3 separate regions of the Homo sapiens genome follow, and all the other regions are linked to region 1. Evidence: promoter capture Hi-C in human tissues and cell types (Jung and others, 2019). All regions are on one chromosome and are shown on one strand. Each heading gives the region's core, a stretch centred on a gene start or on the middle of the fragment in contact. The rest is flanking DNA. Distances are from core to core; before and after follow the strand shown.

Region 1 (3,151 bases), core at 388-2,887:
TAACTAGAGGCTATGAAACATGCAAATTAAATTGAACTGTGGAAAAGCTCTTGGCTGTCACCCAAAAGCTTCAGCAAAGCAATATGCCAGTATGCCAAATAAAAAGAGGTACAATCTTCTCACAAGAATGAGGATAGGGTCCATACCTATGACTAATAATAACAATACAACCTTGCTTTTGCAGAGCATTAGGTCTTTTCATAGATCTTTCAGGCACTCGATTTTGATGCTGTCATTGGCCTTAGGAGTATCCTCTCCGAAGAGCTCCAGTTCAGTTTCCTCTTAAGAGTTATGATCAGAACAAGGCAGGCGATGTGTTTATTGAGGGTTGAAGGTACTATTGTAGTTTCTCCTATCAAGCTGTTTGCAGTGATCCTCCAATAATCACACTATACAACTCAGCCCCAGCAAATAAAACCTACATTCTTTCCCTCAGAGCTGGCCAGAGACCAACACATATAGGTCTAGAAAGTCCAAGGGAAGGAAACCTCCTGACTTGTTAGGTTAAGAACTCCATGCCAAATTCATCTCTTGCAATTGAAAAAAGAAATCTCTCTCACACTCTGTCTCTCTCTCTCTCACACACACACACACACACACACACACTCACCCAAGAGTGTTCAAACAGAAATCCTCTTTTTCTGCCAGCCAATGAAACCCAGCAACAACTGGTTAATACAACCACCAAATCTCTGCCTCTGTCAACAACTTACCATATTCGCTTCTCCTGTGCCTGCTGACCACCCTTCCCGCTTCAGGCACGCGTGAACACGCTTATACAGTAGCCCTCGAAAGGACCCCCAAAAGCACCTTTAAGGACCCAAGAGGATGAAGCTTGCCTCCTGAAGCAATGCAGCATCCATCTCGAGGGAGCCGGTTCCCCATGCACACACACAGAGGAAGTCACAGAGGGGAATAAAGTTTGATTTTCCTTCCTGCCCGACCCCTCGGGGACGAGAGAGGACGAGGGGCGGCCCCGCCGGGGTCCTGGGCTGCTCTCCGGGGCAGCTCCCAGCAGCATGGCACTGCCACTCTCCTGGCACACACAAGGCGGCCGCGGCAACTCAGAACTCCCCAACCCGCCCGGAGGAGGAGGGAAAGGGGACAACTTCCATCTGGCTCCGTTCAGGGAGCCTTGGGGCAGGGCTGTTAAGAACGAAGAAGGGAGGGAACGCGATTGGGGGCGAGTCGGGGAGAGGTTCAAGTCCCGTGCCTTCCCCGCCCTGGTGTCCCCAGTCCTGCGGGAACATCCCCGCCGTCGCCCCTCCTCCTCCTCTCGGCTTCCTCCCGCCCGCCCTCCCTTCCTGGTCGCCGCCGCAGGCGCCTGAAGGGCACGGCGGCTCCTCGGTGCCCGGCAACCTCCGGAGCGGCCGGGAGTTGAGGTAACTCGCCTGCTGCCCCGGCGGCCTGCCCGCCGGCGGCTCCCACACGCCAGCGCCGCCCCGCCCTCCCCGGAGCCTCCGGGCGCGCTCGCTCACCGTCCGGTGGTGCTGCTGCTGCCGGTGGCGGCTGACGCCCAGCCCAGGGAAGCAGCCGGCAGTCAGCGCCCCGCAGCCGCCGGCGCCCCCGCCGCCGCCGCCCCGAGAGGAGAGGAGCAGCAGGAGCGATCTACCTGCGGCGGCCGCCATCTCTCAACTGGAAACGGCGCCGACCCAGGCAGCGCAGCGGACGGCCAGGGCGGAGCTAAGACCCGCCACTCACCGACGCCGGGCCAACTAAAGCCCTTGACTGAGTTGATGAGGCGGGGCTTCCTGCAAGGTCCAATCGACAGGCGGGAGAACCACACTGGAAGCTGCCAGTCCCTTCCAGAGTTACCTATAGTGGGACATAGTCAATTACGGGCAAATTCTAGGGAACCCATAATTGACACCCAAACCCGTGAAAATAACAGCAATAGAGATGGCATGTTCAGTTCGGCTAATCTTCACCAACAATAGAGCTATGATAAGAGTAACGGGGGATATAGATATTTGTGAAAAGCTTTGTTCGAAGTTGAGTTCTAAGTGAGTGTTCTAAGTTGGCAAAATAGGCACCAAATTAATAACCATTAACGGTGTATGCTGTAACTCTCAACTACACGCCTAGAATTATCATTCATAACTGATAATATTTAGATATGCTGAAATTAACTCTACATCACGGAGTGATCTAATGACTGTGATGCGTAGCATAATATAGGAGAGGTAGAACGATTACAATATCAAAGTCCCAGAATGAGTACATGCCTTCAGAGTGAATTAACTGACGTGTATACATCTCAAATACCCAATTCATTTTTACAGCACCTTTATACGGATATTCTCACACTCTCCAGAAACAGCACTATTTTATCATATTTGACTTTGTGTGCATTTACAGAAACAGAACACATTAATAACGTAATAAAAAATCATGTAAGGCCGGGCGCGGTGGCTCACGCCTGTAATCCCAGCACTTTGGGAGGCAGAGGCGGGCGGATCACGAGGTCAGGAGATCGAGACCATCCTGGCTAACACGGTGAAACCCCATCTGTACTAAAAATACAAAAAATTAGCCAGGCGTGGTGGCGGGCGCTTATAGTCCCAGCTATTCCGGAGGCTGAGGCAGGAGAATGGTGTGAACCCGGGAGACGGAGCTTGCAGTGAACCGAGATCGGGCCATTGCACTCCAGCCTGGGCGACACAGCAAGACTCCATCTCAAAAAAAAAAAAAAAAATTCATGTAAAAGGCTATTTTAATGATGCTTCATAATTTTGCCGAAATAGTTATCAGAATACGCTTTGGAATAACAAACACTTTCTCTTGAAAAACACTTCTTTCCACTTAAACTCACAATGAGGGCTCCTTGAATACTGCCTAAGAAAGATTTTGGGTCCTGAATTTCCTTAGAAGAGTATTTCCTTGCTAGCTGTTTATTATTATGAGCTGATTAAATTCTCACACCTCTTTTTAAAATCTGGAGCAGGAAAATAGTTTGGGAAGCAAATACAAGCATTATTTTAAATTTTGGAAAACATCTTTGTAGTGTAGCCTTAGATGATAAATTTAAAACAAAAACAAAACACACACATAAATACGAAGAAAATGTTATCACTTATTCTAAGAATATTCTTTAAAGTTTGACTGAAATGGTACCTTCTTGGCCAAGAATAGCTAAAAAATGACGTGGAAG
Region 2 (3,151 bases), core at 286-2,785, 450 kb before region 1:
AATTAGCCGGGTATGGTGGCGCACGCCTATAATCCCAGCTACTTGAAAGGCTGAGGCAGGAGAATCGCTTGACCCCGGAAGGCAGAGGTTGCAGTGAGCTGGGATCGTGCCACTGCACCGCAGCCTGGGTGACAGAGCAAGACTCCGTCTCAAAAAAAAAACAAAACAAAAAAAACTGTTACTTGTGTATCAAATATATCATTATTAGTGTTGATGCTCTTGAACCTGATGAAAGATATAAATTTATATTTGGTATTCTCTCTTTAAGAAAGCAGGGATAAGGGAAGATATGTTCTTGTTTATTTTTTAAGCTTTAGTTCTTAAAAGAACAGGCTTTATTTAAATTAACTCAAATAAATAATGGTTTTGCTAATGCTAGATATCTTATTGGGGCTAGAGAGTGGGTAGGTCCCTAAATCAGCATAAGCTAAATGTACATAAACAAGATGCAATTTTTACTTTTCATTTATCAGACTTTCCCATTTCTGTTGTCCTGCAAGGCCAGTAAACTCAAGGATTTTTAAAACTTAAACTACAACTTTTCTTGCTGTGCCTCCTTAGAAATTCTATCTTTGGTAGCTTTCCTAAGAATGGCACCACTTTAGAAAAGTTTCAAAGAGTTGTATTTAGAATAAATTAATTGTCTTTGTCCTTTAATATTGCAGAGAACCTTCTGAGGCTCCAATCACTTTTGATGCAGATTCTTTTCTTAATTATTTTGATAAGATTTTAGGTAAGTAGTGGTGTGATGTTGACTTTCATTTTGAAACTGTTAGTAGTATGGCTGTTGCTAGAGCATTGGTTTATGAGATATCTCAGAAGCCAAAATGTTTGCTTTCTCTTCCTGGTTTGAGTTGCTTTCAACCATGAATTACTACCCATGAATAATTTTGTAGAGGCTGCCTAGCTTAGTGTTTGACATATATAGTAGCTGCTCATTAATTTTTTTTTTTTTTTTTTGAGACAGTGTCTCGCTCTGTTGCCCAGGCTGGAGTGCAGTGGCACGATCTCGGCTCACTGCAAGCTCCGCCTCCTGGGTTCATGCCATTCTTCTGCCTCAGCCTCCTGAGTAACTGGGACTACAGGCGCCTGCCACCACACCCAGCTAATTTTTTTGTATTTTTAGTAGAGACGGGGTTTCACCGTGTTAGCCAGGATGGTCTCGATCTCCTGACCTCATGATCCGCCCATCTCAGCCTACCAAAGTGCTGGGATTACAGGCGTGAGCCACCGTGCCCGGCCTCATTAAATATTTGAGAGTGACTGAATGCTGTGTGTTTAAATAGGGTTTTACCTTGGCTCCCATATTATATTGTTCTTTTTTGGAATTACTGTACTTACAAATCAGTAATAAAAAGATAACTCAAAAAATAATTATAATATGTATATATGTACAGAACTGCAGAGAGAAAGATTGGGATACCCGGAAACTGCTAAAAGATGCTTACCTCTGGGGAGAGAGTGAGATTGGAGACAATACTTGTATGGCTTGAATGTTTACATCAAAATGTATTCATTTATTAGGTATTTTTAAAAATTTTTTAAGAAAAATATTTTAATTAATTGAATTCACTTTTTTTTAAGCTAAATCTTTTGATTCAGCTTGTACGCTTTTCCACAACATTAAATGCACACATATCTGCCAGCATTACCATTTGTAGAAGGGATTTTTGTGAAGTAGACTGACTGTGTGTATTAGTCTTTTTCTGTGGGTAACATTCTAATTATTTTGAGATGTGTAGTAACTAAATAATAATAATAATAATAATAATAATAATAATTACTAAGTGGCTCTTTCTTTCTTGGGATCTGTGTAGGGCCAAGGCCTAATGAGTCAGATTCTGATGATCTGGATGATGAAGACTTTGAATGTTTAGATAGTGATGATGACTTGGACTTTGAAACACACGAACCTGGCGAAGAGGCTTCCCTGAAAGGAACACTTGATAATCTCAAGTCATACATGGCCCAGATGGACCAGGAACTAGCACACACCTGCATCAGCAAAAGTTTCACCACTAGGAACCAAGTGGTATGTGTGTTTTTAACCTCTTTCTCTTTCTGAGTCTAGTATGTCAGATAGCTAAAACCATATTTTATCATAGTTTTTCTTTTTTTGGTGTGTGAGATTTGAAATAAATAAGAATGTTAATTGTTTTCCTAACTCTGGTAGGATAAAGGATCATAGACTTAATTTTCCAAAACATAAGCTTCATTATATTACTTATTCTACGTTATCTATCAGGATTTAAAATAAAAAGTCATATAATATGCTCAAATTAGAATGCGATTGTACACTACTACTTCTTAAATACATTTTTTTTCAAAAGTAGTTTAAAAAAACTACAGCTTAAATGGATTTTAAAAAAGAGAGGGCACATGTTCTCAAGACCTTTTGAGACTATGCCTTGGGCCACAGTGGATTAAAACAAAATAACATAAGTAAATAAACAGGATCTTAAACATTCAAATAACTTTCCAGTTTTAACAGTTTATTTTGTATTTTTCCCTAATTTAGAGCCAAATTTAGGATTCACCTTCCGTTTATGTTTTCATCCTAGTTTTTAATGCCACCACTGTCTAATCCTAAACAGAGGTATTATGGAAAGAGCAAGAACCCTGGAGTCTTATGGGTTAGGGTTTGAAGTCTAGCTCAGCTGTCCACTGTGAATGTATCTATAAACCAGTAATCCTCATATCATAAAATTAACATGAGAACCAAATTAGACAGCAGTAAAACCTACAATAGGCCTTTAATTAATGTTAATTCTCCTTGCTTTGATCATCTAAACCACTTTTAAAACTATAGTCACTTCCAGAATTGTCAAAATCTAGTAGAAACCATACATTAGATTTATCTAAAGCAGTATTTCTTAAATTTTAATGCGAATATAAACCAAAAGATCATGTTACAACATAGATTCTGATTAAGTAGGCCTGGGATGAAGCTTGAGATTTTCCTTTTTTTTATTATTATTTTGTTTTATTTTATTATTATTATTATTATTTTATTTGAGATGGAAGTCTCCCTCTGTCACCCAGGCTGGAGTACAGTGGCACGATCTTGGCTCACTGCACCCTCTGCCTCCTGGGTTTAAGCAATTCTCCTGCCTCAGCCTCCCAAGTAGCTGGGACTACAGGTGCGCACCAC
Region 3 (3,151 bases), core at 212-2,711, 330 kb before region 1:
AGAACTTCCAACACTATGTTGAATAGGAGTGGTGAGGGAGGGTATCCTTGTCTTGTGCCGGATTTCAAACAGTGCTTCCAGTTTTTGCCCATTCAGTATGATATTGGCTGTGGGTTTGTCATAAATAGCTCTTATTATTTTGAGATATGTTCCATCAATACCTAGTTTACCGCATTTTCAGCATGAAGGGCTGTTGAATTTTGTCAAAGGCCTTTTCTGCATCTATTGAGATAATCATGTGGTTTTTGTCATTGGTTCTGTTTATGTGATGGATTACGTTTATTGATTTGTGTATGTTGAACCAGCCTTGCATCCCAGGGATGAAGCTGACTTGATTGTGGTGGATAAGCTTTTTGATGTGCTGCTGGATTCGGTTGGATTTTTGCGTCGATGTTCATCAGCGATATTGGCCTAAAATTCTCTTTTTTTGTTGTGTCTCTGCCAGGCTTTGGTATCAGGATGATACTGGCCTCATAAAATGAGTTAGGGAGGATTCCCTCTTTTTCTGTTGATTGGAATAGTTTCAGAAGGAATGGTACCAGCTCCTCTTAGTACCTCTGATAGAATTCGGCTGTGAATCCATCTGGTCCTGAACTTTTTTTAGTTGGTAGGCTGTTATTGCCTCAATTTCAGAGTCTGTTATTTTTCTATTCAGAGATTCAACTTCTTCCTGGTTTGGTCTTGGGTGTATGTGTCCAGGAATTTATCCATTTCTTCTAGATTTTCTAGTTTATTTGCATAGAGGTGTTTATAGTATTCTCTGATGGTAGTTTGTATTTCTGTGGGATCTGTGGTGATATCCCCTTTATCATTTTTTACTGTGTCTATTTGATTATTCTCTCTTTTCTTCTTTATTAGTCTTGCTAGCTGTCTATCAATTTTGTTGATCTTTTCAAAAAACCAGCTCCTGGATTCATTGATTTTTTGAAGGGTTTTTTATGTCTGTATCTCTTTCAGTTCTGCTTTGATCTGAGTTATTTCTTGCCTTCTGCTAGCTTTTGAATTTGTTTGCTCTTGCTTCTCTTGTTCTTTTAATTGTGATGTTAGGGTGTCGATTTTAGGTCTTTCTTGCTTTCTCTTGTGGGCATTTAGTGCTATAAATTTTCCTCTACACTGCTTTAAATGTGTCCCAGAGATTCTGGTACGTTGTGTCTTTGTTCTCATTGGTTTCAAAGAACATGTTTATTTCTGCCTTCATTTCGTTATTTACCCAGTAGTCATTCAGGAGCAGGTTGTTCAGTTTCCATGTAGTTGTGTGGTTTTGAGTGAGTTTCTTAATCCTGAGTTCTAATTTGATTGCACTGTGGTCTGAGAGACAGTTTGTTGTGATTTCTGTTCTTTTACATTTGCTGAGGAGTGCTTTACTTCCAATTATGTGGTCAGTTTTAGAATAAGTGTGATGTGGTGCTGAGAAGAATGTATATTCTGTTGATTTGGGGTGGACAGAGTTCTGTAGATGTCTATTATAATGGTCTGCTTAGTGCAGAGCTGAGTTCCAGTCCTGGATATTCTTGTTAACCTTCTGTCTTGTTGATCTCATATTGACAGTGGAGTGTTAAAGTCTCTCATTATTATTGTGTGAGAGTCTAAGTCTCTTTTTAGGACTCTAAGGACTTGCCTTATGAATCTGGGTGCCCCTGTATTGGGTGCATATATATTTAGAATAGTTAGCACTTCTTGTTGAATTGATCCCTATACCATTACGTAATGGCCTTCTTTGTCTCTTTTGATCTGTGTTGGTTTAAAGTCTGTTTGATCAGAGACTAGGATTGCAGCCGCTGCTTTTTTTTTTTTTTTTCTTTCCATTTGCTTCGTAGATCTTCCTCCATCCCTTTATTTTGAGCCTATGTGTGTCTCTGCACATGAGATGTGTCTCCTGATGGGTCTTGACTCTTTATCCAATTTGCCAGTCTGTGCCTTTTCATTGGGACATTTAGCCCATTTACATTTAAGGCTAATATTGTTATATGTGAATTTGATCCTGTCATTATGATGTTCGCTGGTTATTTTGCTCGTTAATTGATGCGGTTTCTTCATAGCATCGATGGTCTTTATAATTTGGCATGTTTTTGCAGTGGCTGGTACCAGTTGTTCCTTTCCATGTTTAGTGCTTCCTTCAGGAGCTCTTGTAAGACAGGCCTGGTGGTGACAAAATCTCTCAGCATTTGCTTGTCTGCAAAGGATTTTATTTCTCCTTTATTTAGAAAGCTTAGTTTGGCTGGATATGAAATTCTGGGTTGAAAATTCTTTTTTTTAAGAATGTTGAATATTGGCCCCCACTCTCTTCTTGCTTGTAGGGTTTCTGCAGAGAGATCCACTGTTAGTCTGATGGGCCTCCCTTTGTGGGTAACCCGACCTTTCTCTCTGGCTGCCCTTAAGATTTTTTCCTTCATTTCAGCCTTGGTGAATCTGACAATTACGTGTCTTGTGGTTGCTCTTCTCGAGAAGTATCTTTGTGGTGTTCTCTGTATTTCTGAATTTGACTGTTGGCCTGCCTTGCTAGGTTGGGGAAATTCTCCTGGATAATTTCCTGAATAGTGTTTTTCAGCCTGTTTCCATTCTCCCCGTCACTTTCAGGTGTACACCAATCAAACATAGATTTGGTCTTTTTAGATAGTCCCATATTTCTTGGAGGCTTTATTTGTTTCTTTCTACTCATTTTTCTCTAAACTTGTCTTCTTGCTTTATTTCATTAATTCCATCTTCAATCACTGATACCCTTTGTTCCACTTGATCAAATCGGCTACCGAAGCTTGTGCATGCACCATGACGTTCTTATGCCATGGTTTTCAGCTCCATCAGGTCATTCAAGGTCTTCTCTACACTGTTTGTTCTAGTTAGCCATTCGTCTAACCTTTTTTCAAGGGTTTTAGCTTCCTTGCGATGGCTTAGAACATGCTTCTTTAGCTGGGAGGTTTGTTATTACCGACCTTCTGAAGCCTACTTCTGTCAGCTCATCAAAGTCATTCTCTGTCCAGCTTTGTTCTGTTGCTTGTGAGGAGCTGCAGTCCTTTGGAGGAGAGGAGGTGCTCTGATCTTTAGAAGTTTCAGCTTTTCTGCTCTGGTTTCTCCCCATCTTTGTGGTTTTGTCTACCTTTGGCCTTCGATGTTGGTGACCTACAGATGGGGTTTTGGTGTAGATGACCTTTTT

What was found. The method cuts DNA at HindIII sites, captures the fragments that hold promoters and counts their contacts. A contact is called where the count stands out against the background at its distance.
Region 2: a contact is called between a fragment that was not itself captured here and the fragment with the promoter of MCU in region 1, in 1 of the 25 tissues and cell types used here (hippocampus).
Region 3: a contact is called between a fragment that was not itself captured here and the fragment with the promoter of MCU in region 1, in 1 of the 25 tissues and cell types used here (mesenchymal stem cells).

Annotation. Positions count from the first base shown.
Region 1 is chr10:72,690,629-72,693,779 of GRCh38, reverse strand. MCU (mitochondrial calcium uniporter) reads right to left here and starts at 1,637. Exons shown (of 8, transcript NM_138357.3): 1 at 1,479-1,637. The coding sequence starts at 1,628. RefSeq lists enhancers at 200-289, 1,960-2,019 and silencers at 1,050-1,139, 1,160-1,209, 1,300-1,759. The HindIII fragment of the contact is 2,893 bases long and covers 452-3,151 here.
Region 2 is chr10:73,135,585-73,138,735 of GRCh38, reverse strand. It overlaps ECD (ecdysoneless cell cycle regulator), which reads left to right. Exons shown (of 14, transcript NM_007265.3): 12 at 666-733; 13 at 1,818-2,032. Among named protein-coding and RNA genes, the nearest start is that of SNORA11F, 11 kb to the right of the region's middle. The HindIII fragment of the contact is 3,377 bases long and covers 1-3,151 here.
Region 3 is chr10:73,022,456-73,025,606 of GRCh38, reverse strand. The region is part of intron 10 of P4HA1 (prolyl 4-hydroxylase subunit alpha 1); the gene reads left to right. Among named protein-coding and RNA genes, the nearest start is that of PLA2G12B, 69 kb to the right of the region's middle. The HindIII fragment of the contact is 5,177 bases long and covers 1-3,151 here.